Regions from separate parts of the Homo sapiens genome. Here region 2 is linked to region 1. The links are contacts of gene promoters, found by promoter capture Hi-C in blood cells and fetal thymus (Javierre and others, 2016). All regions are on one chromosome and are shown on one strand. Each heading gives the region's core, a stretch centred on a gene start or on the middle of the fragment in contact. The rest is flanking DNA. Distances are from core to core; before and after follow the strand shown.

Region 1 (4,248 bases), core at 1,517-4,016:
ATTATGCACAATATAATCTCAATTCCATTAAAACATGTAGAAGAAAAAAAAAACAGTAGAATAAAGAAAGCAAACTGTTAATAAGGTTTTGCTGGGTAACCAACAGGTAATTGTGTGTTATTCTTTTCTGGACCTTCCAATTTTTCTGAAGGAAGCAACTATTATTTCTTTTTAATCAGGGTCAAAAATAAAAACATGTCATTAAGACACAACAGCTGAGGTTCAGAGAAGTTGAATGATTTGCCCTAAAGCAGAAGGTAGTAAAGTGGCAGTGATGACTAAAAACCTCGTCAACCCTAGATCCAAGGCTTTGCATTCTGCCACAGGTTCGACCTAAGAATCACCTCCAAGTATGTACACTTCCTAAATCCCAGTTGTACCAATTAATTTTCCCAAGTAAATTTTACCTAGTTCAAATTTATTGCCTTTCAACATTGAAGGGATATCAATGTGTCTACTTCATTAAAAATTAGCTGGCACAGGCCAGGCGCAGTGGCTCACACCTGTAATCCCAGCACTTTGAGAGGCCAAGGCGGGCAGATCACCTGAGGTCAGGAGTTCGAGACCAGCCTGGCCAACATGGCAAAACCCCGTCTCTACAAAAAGTACAAAAACTAGGTGGGCGTGGTGGCACACGTCTGTAATCCCAGCTACTCAGGAGGCTGAGGCATGAGAATCACTTGAACCCGGGAGGCAGAGGTTGCAGTGAGCCAAGATTGCAACATTGCACTCCAGCCTGGGCAACAAGAGCAAAACCCCGTCTCAGGAAAAAAAAAAAAAAAAAAAAAAAAAAAAGCTGGCACAGTGGCACACGCCTGTATTCCCAGCTGCTAGGGAGGCTGAGGCAGGAGGATCACTTCAGCATAGGTGTTCCAGGACACAGTGCACTACGATAGTGTCTGTGAACAGCCATTGCTCTCCAGACTGGGAAACATAGCAAGATCCCCATCTCAAAAAACAAACAAATATATTGTAAAACGGACACTAGTATGATGCATGCTTGTAAAGAAAAAAAAAAACCACAATTCTTAAGTTGTAAACTAATCTGGCAAAAACCTCAAGACATTAGATGAGTCAAGAGTTTATCTCTGCCTCACAAGTCATTTCCAGGGCAGTGTGCAATCCATTCTGAGCCGTTTATAGTCTTTATGGGCTATTAAAAAAAAAAGCCAAGTAAGAGAAGAAAGGTAAGGCAACCTGTTGAATCTTACATAATAAAAAGTAAAATGACAAAGTACACCTGACCAATTCCACAAACTTTTTGCAAATCATCTGAAACAAATACAGTTTATAACTTTATATGGAGAAATCATCAAGAAAAAAATTGAACCGAGTATACTGGCAGTCAAGATAAACCAAATGTGAGTTTCTCTTTTTGTCACTATCAGCTGTTAAGAGTACATTAGCAGCAGGCAACTGGCCTGTGAAGATAACTTTCAGAATAAAAAAGAACAAATCAATTCTACAATCAGAGCCCCATTTCAACTTGGCAATTAACATTGGCACAAAATCCATGGCAGAAGTGCCATCCAGGAAAAGGAGATCTAGACCTCTTCTGCTTTTCTTCTTTGGGGGCCATGTTCAACTGTAAAGACACACGAAATGGTGCAACTGCATTTCTAAATCAGCAACAATTCAGAAATGTTTCATTCTAAATAGTGTCCAACCAGCAACACCGTCTTAAACCGTTTAAATTATCGTGTAAAACGGCTTAGAGATGAAGTTTTCCCTATGCAAGTTACAGCCCCTGCCAACATTTTAAAAAATATAGCTGCTTTCATTCTGCAGTACTGAAAACATATTAAATGGTTACATTTTCCAAAACTGTCTTAAGCTAGAGCAACCACATCAGCATCATTCCGACGCACAGAACACAGGGCTTTTATTTTGATGAGTTTATTAAGGCCAAGTCTGCAGGGAGCAGCGCAGCAGTCGCGGAGCGGCGAAGGCACCGTCCATCCCTCGCCGTGCACAGCTCGAGTGACAGCGACCACAGTCACGGCCGCGACACGGGCACATTCGGCGGGGAGAGCGGTCTTGGGCTCCGGGACCCGTCACGGGCTTTGCCATTAGGGCTCCACACACAACCTTACAGCCTCTCCCAAAGAAAAACGATCCATTTCCTTCCTTAGCTTGCTGAGCCTCGGAAATCATTAAATAAGACTATCGGGGTTTCTCTCCCTTCTGCAATTTTTCTGAAGAGGTTCTCAGGGAGAAAATTCCAGGATCGAGATTTGGCACCTCACATCACCGCGATAAAAACGGCGCCTTTCGTCAAATAAAAAGGACCCGCGCGCGTACGTGACCGCCCGGCCCACGAGCACCAGCGGCTCGGTCTCCGCCTGCGGCCCTCGGCCCAGCCGAGCAGGCCCACGCGGGCCTTGGGCGGCGGGCCCAGCCTCCACAACTCCGGGCGCGGCCTGCGACGGGCGGTGACCTAGGGCGGCGGCGGCCCCCACCTGGGCCGGGGCGGGCACCTGCGGGAGCCGCGGAGGCGCCAGACCTGGGGTCGGCCAGCTGGGCTCTCCCTCGTCGCCCACCAGCTCCCGCGCCTCACCTGCGGGCTGTCCTCCAGCGTCTCCTCGATGGGCAGCTTGTCGATCCCCGGCATCGTGGCGGAGGGAGGGCGGTGGCAGGAGACGCAGCTGCCGCCCACAGCTCCCCGCGCCGGCCCGCCCGCCGCAGCTGACCCCGGCCCGCCCTCTCCGGCAAGGGCTGCAGCCGTCCCCGCCCGCACAGCCTTCTCCAGGCGCCGAGCGGCCGTGCGGGAAATCCCGCCCCCTCGGCCTCCCTGCCCCGCCTCCCGGCGCGTCCATTGGCTCCCGGGGACGCCCATCCGCGCTGCGGCGGTGGTCGGGAGGTTCCCGTGCGGCGCTAGGCTCTCCCGCGAGCGCGGGCGTCGGAAGCGGCGGAGGTGGCAGTGTCTGCCCTGGGATGGCCTTCCCTGCACGCGCGCGTTTGTATCTAAATCGCAGGGGACCGTCTCTTCCTCAGCTTGCCGGCGCGAGGAGCCAGAGCCTCGAGTTAGGGCCACACGGGGGAATTTGGGGCGGGTTGACTTTTCCCGCAACATATTTTGTCAGAGACCTTGGAGAAAGTCCTACTGCTGGCGCCTTTTAGTTTCCTCAGATGATAACATTCCCAACTCCGCTCGAAGCGTCCAGTCTTAATCCCCTCCAGCAGAATGGTGCTGACTAACTCAGATGTCTGAGATCCGCAGCTGTGTCAATAATAGGGCTTTCTGGCAAACTTGTGAACGTAGGCTCGAAATTGTTTTTCTGGACGCTTGAATATCAGTATATTCAGTTGAAAACATGTGATTTTGTTGCCAGTTTATCAGTTCCTACCTGGCCTCCCGAGGTCAGTCCTTCAGGACTGACGCTGCAACTCCAACTCCCATGTTTCTTTTAAATCACAAAGGAAAATATCTTTTAAAAATCAGGATACACTGATTAATTATGTTAGTAACTAATTGGCATTTGTTGAATCAAAAAGTTTTGGAAGCGTTAAATAGTTTTAGCCTCTAATTTTACAATAAAGTGAAGCTCAAAGTTGGGAATTTGACCGGATGAGGGCTACAAGCCTATCCTTTCCTCCTCCCTCTTCATCTTTCCCAACCTGTCACCCTGGCTCGTTTATGTCTCTGTATAGTTGTAGGCTTTCATCATTATACAGAGAAAATAACAAAGTAAGTAGTGTCTTCTAAACATCTAGCCATTAATTCCACCAATCCATTCCATTTTCATTCAAGAAATACCAGAGATGCTGAGTAAAGATTAATTAGCTGCCTGGTTCCACAGATACATGGGAACAAATCCAGAATAGTAGTAGCTCAAATCCAAATATAGTAACAAATAGAAGTTATATATTTTAAACGAAAATAGTAGATTTTCCCATGATCTCTTGAAAGAAAAATAAAATTATATTTTTAAAGTTTTGTTGAGTAGACTTGCATTGTAGTTTTACGGAATTATTTTTAGTGTTACAATCTTTAAAAGTTTTCCCCTTAGATTGTTTATCAGCCAGTCTCTCTCTCCCGAAGAGTTCTTTAGTTTTTGAGGAAGTTGATTTGGAGGCAGTTCTTACAATGAGTTAAGGGTTCCCAGTTGTGTTACAGTTTCTTTTTCCTTGATATCTCATTTCTACTCTGCCAACAAGAACACCATGCACCCCAGCTCTAAAGAAGGAAGACTTTCAAGGTAAGTGACCTTCCTGATTGAACTGAGTTAGATTTTAAATGAAGAAAGG
Region 2 (4,096 bases), core at 450-2,949, 230 kb after region 1:
TTTGTGTGTGTGCAGAGAGAGTTTGGACCATTTTCTTTTGTGTGTTTGTGTGGATTGAATAAAAGAGTGATTGTTTTTCAATTGTCTCTATGCAGGAAGCCTTGGCTGACTGTAAAAATTTGGCACTGGGAAGCGAGCAGCAGTTTGCGATGTTACTGATTCAGTGTTTGCATAAATAACTTTGAGAACCTTAAAAACCCAACTGTACATTATACCTTGTAGTTGCAGGACATCAAAGTTAATTAAGTCTTGTCCGCCTCATTTTGCAGATGAGGAAACAGAGGCCAGAAGAGCTTGCATGTGACGTTGCCTTCAACTGTACACACGTTCATGAGAAGTGTGACTTTGGAATTGTGAAAGTTTTATGAGTTCTTGCTGAAGCATCTTCCAGGAATTCTAGAATTGGAATGTGGAGGCCCTGGAGGAGTGAAAATAGAAAATCTTTCAGTTTTCCTGATAATACAGGGGAATGACAGGGCAGTGAAGTAAGGGGTGCAGAGCAGGTGTTTGGATCATTTACCCTTCGTCATCTCCTACTGGGGGCCTCTCATTGTACTCGCAGGCTGTCTCTCTGTTGATCAGGGCAAAGGCATACGTGGATGTGAAAAAGCCCCCACAAACAGCTCCTCTGAGTTCCTGTGACAACCTGCCCGGGGTAGATCTGCGCGGAGTCAGCCCTGTTTATGGAGAGGCTGCCAGACCCCACTTTTGCCCAGGCCTTCTTGCTCAGGCAAGCCTGCTGCTAAGCTCTTAGGGGGGCAGAGTTTGCTTTTGGCATCTCTTTCTGCCCACCCTTAGCCATCTTCCTCTTGATACCAGCCCCTTCCAAGAACCAAGAGCCCTCCACCTGATCCCTGGGCCCGACTGTCTTCCAGGCCATGGACTGGGCAGAAGTGACCAAATGTGGACCCTGCTCTGCAGGACCTCCCCACAGGGCATGTGAGTGGACAGGCTAGAAGTCTGAATTGAGAGTTGGGGGCTCCGGGGGAGTGGTCCATCCTGAGGGAGGTCATGAGGGTCAGAAAGACTTGTCAGAGAAGATGGCCCTGGGGCTGGGTCATCAGAGGCTGAGCTGCTCAGTGGAAACCAAGCATCGCAGGCCTCAGTGCTGTTTGGTGGCAAGTGCTTCTGCAGGGCTGGAGGCCCTGTGTGGGGATGCTGGGGTAGGGATCCCAGGAAATGAGTTGAGGGGTAGGTGAGGTGGGGAGGGTTGTAATGGCTAGAGCAGGGGTGTTCAATCTTTTGGCTTCCCTGAGCCACATTGGAAGAAGAATAATTGTCTTGGGCCACACATAAAATACAGTAACACTAATGACAGCTGATGAGCAAATAAGCAAATTGCAAAAAAAAAAAAAAATAATAATAATAATAATAATAATGTTTTAAGAAAGTTTCCGAATTTGTGTTGGGCCACGTTCAAAGCTGTACTGGGCCCGCCTGCGGGCCACAGGTTGCACAAGCTTGGGCTATAGGGTCTGCATAGCTGTGCTTTTTTATCTTGGATTTTATTCTGTAAGAGATACGGGGCCTTGCTGTCTTAGTCCATTTGAGCTGCTGTAGCAATACATCATAAAGAGAGTGGCTTATAAACAACAGAAATTTATTGATTTCTCACAGTTCTGGAGGCTGAGAAGTCCAAGGTCAAGGTGCCAGCAGATTCAGCATCTTGTGAGGGCCCATTTCCTCGTTCATAGATGGTGCCTTCTCACTGTGTCCTCATGAGATGGAAAGGAAAGAAGCTCTCTGGGGCCTTTTATTAATGCACTAATCCCATTCATTTAATCACCTTCCAGAGGCCCTACCTCCTCATACCATCACATGGGGGATTAGGTTTCAACCCATGAATTTTGGTGAGACACAAACATTCAGACCATAGCAATTTCAAGGGTTTGAAATGGGATGAGGAAGGAATAACTATATTTGAGATTTAGAAGCTTCTCGTTTGCAGTGTGCAGGGAGAGCTAAGATAGGGAATAGACAGGAGAGGAGGGGGTTTGAAGCAGAGTGGATGCAGAAATGAGGGAGGGTGGCTCAGCAGACCCCCTGGGTTCCACAGTGGAAATGGGGGCAGATGGTGATGCCAGTCATTAAGACTGTGTTTCAGTTGGTGAGTCCCAGTCTCTAGGTCTACAAAATGAGAATAAGGGATGATGATGGGGATTAAAGGCAATCTCATGGGGGCTGTGCTTGGAGGGCACTGTCACCTGTGTTTTTTTCCTTCTTTCAATTGAAAGCTCCCAACCTTGTGTTCCAATCCCCCAGGGCCTTGCTCTTTGATAACTCAGCTGATGAATTACTTCTCATCACAGGTGGGAGTTAATGGTTGATGGGAATTAATATGTTATCCGGTCCTGGTAGCCTATTTCCATTTTAAACAGAGGTTCTCACTAACTAGACTAAAGGAGTCCTCAGACTTTTAGGGCAGCCTTGAATTTGTCATCAAAATTTTGCCAGAAAATCTTCAAATGTCCAATTTTAGCTTCAACTTATATTTTTTAGTTTCCTCTCTATTCAACTTACATTTTTTAGGTTTCTCTCTACTGGGGTCTCAAATTGAGACCAGGTTAAAAAAAATTCTCTCTCTCTCTCTCTCTCTCTCTCTCTCTCTCTCTCTCTCTCTCTCTCTCGGAAAATTTACTCTCTTTTGCCCCCTAGTGTCAGACTTTTGAATACCTCTTTGAGTCCAGTCACTTTGGGATTGATTGAAAAAATGATGATTGCATGTCTCCTGTTTGCTGGGTGCCACAAAGATCCTCACTGCCTGATCTTATCATGGCCATTCAGTCCATTCCTAAAGAAGCAGCAAGGCATATAAACAAAGTTAAAATGAATTCTGTCTGGAAGATTTTATATCTTTTTTTTAGCATTTCACATTACTCTTTGATACAACAAATCAGAGTCATCAGAGGACGAGCTTGGTAAAGGACAGTTGTCAAAGTCCTAATTCCTGAGAAGGACAAGATGCCTCTTCACTGAACTCCACCCCCCAGACGCCGGCCTCAGCTCATAGCACAGAGGAAAATTATGATCCTTGAGCATAAATTGCTTTACAAAGAGTTGAAAATTGGTGCTCTGTGCCCCAGCCATTGTATTAGTCCATTTTCACACTGCTATTAAAGAACTACCTGAGACTGGGTAATTTATAAAGAAAAGAGATTTAATTGATGAACAGTTCCCCAGAGGAGAACTGAGGCCCAGTCTCCTGAGGCCTCAGGAAACTTAGAATCATGGCAGAAGGCAAAGAGGAGGCATGGCACATCTTACATGGGGTCAGGAGAGAATGAGAGTGAGGGGGGACGTGCCACACTTTTAAACCATCAGATCCTGAGAGAACTCACTCACTGTCACAAGAACAGCAAGGGGGAAATCCACCACCAGGTCCAGTCACCTCTCACCAGGCCCTTCCCCTGACACATGGGGATCACAGTTTCACATGAGATTCAGAGACACAGATCCAAACCATATCAGTCAGTCATCATTCCTGCCGCATCTTGTATTTTCTTCTATTGTCCTGGATTCGGGGGAGTGTGGGAAGTTTTTAAGTTATACTGTGTTTTGTTACAGGTTTAATGAGAAAAATATGAAAAGATTACCCATCCATACCGTTGCTAGTATCTTGAGACAATTAAGGCATATGGTAATGGAAAAATATGAACTCTTCAGCGAGGGTGGTGGAAACTCCTTTTCCAAGAGGGAAAAGGGAAATCCCTTTTCCAAGAGGGCTGTTGAAACTCTTTTCCCTTTCTGGCGAATAATTTTAGAAAAATAGTCATGTTATCCACAAAGTAGTCTCTTTTGAAAAATCCAAACAGATTGAAAAAAGAGACTTAAATTCTCCGTAAGTTATATTTTAATGCTCAGGATGATTCAGGTCAGTGCCCAACACAGTGCCTGATGCACATGAGCCCTCCAGAAATGGCACCTGGCAGCCTTTTAGTACTAGAGCTTCTATAGTTAAACCTCGTTTCCTTGCCGTGCTTTTTGCTTGTTAGTTGTTTTGGGCTTTACATTTGTGTAGGGAAATTTTGCCCAAGTTTCATGTAGAGTTGTATCATTTACTTACTTAACAAAGCCTTGTGAGATTTCAAAAAATACA

The links. Contacts are between HindIII fragments. The CHiCAGO score rates a contact against its expected background, and 5 or more counts as called.
Region 2: a contact is called between a fragment that was not itself captured here and the fragment with the promoter of APPL1 in region 1, in 2 of 17 cell types (M0 macrophages and endothelial precursors). The highest score is 5.6, in M0 macrophages.

What each region holds. Positions count from the first base shown.
Region 1 is chr3:57,226,247-57,230,494 of GRCh38, reverse strand. APPL1 (adaptor protein, phosphotyrosine interacting with PH domain and leucine zipper 1) reads right to left here and starts at 2,766. Exons shown (of 22, transcript NM_012096.3): 1 at 2,558-2,766. The coding sequence starts at 2,611. It also overlaps a transcript of HESX1 not described here. RefSeq lists a silencer at 2,309-2,968. The HindIII fragment of the contact is 8,451 bases long and covers 1-4,248 here.
Region 2 is chr3:56,994,152-56,998,247 of GRCh38, reverse strand. It overlaps a transcript of ARHGEF3 not described here. Among named protein-coding and RNA genes, the nearest start is that of ARHGEF3-AS1, 56 kb to the right of the region's middle. The HindIII fragment of the contact is 474 bases long and covers 1,463-1,936 here.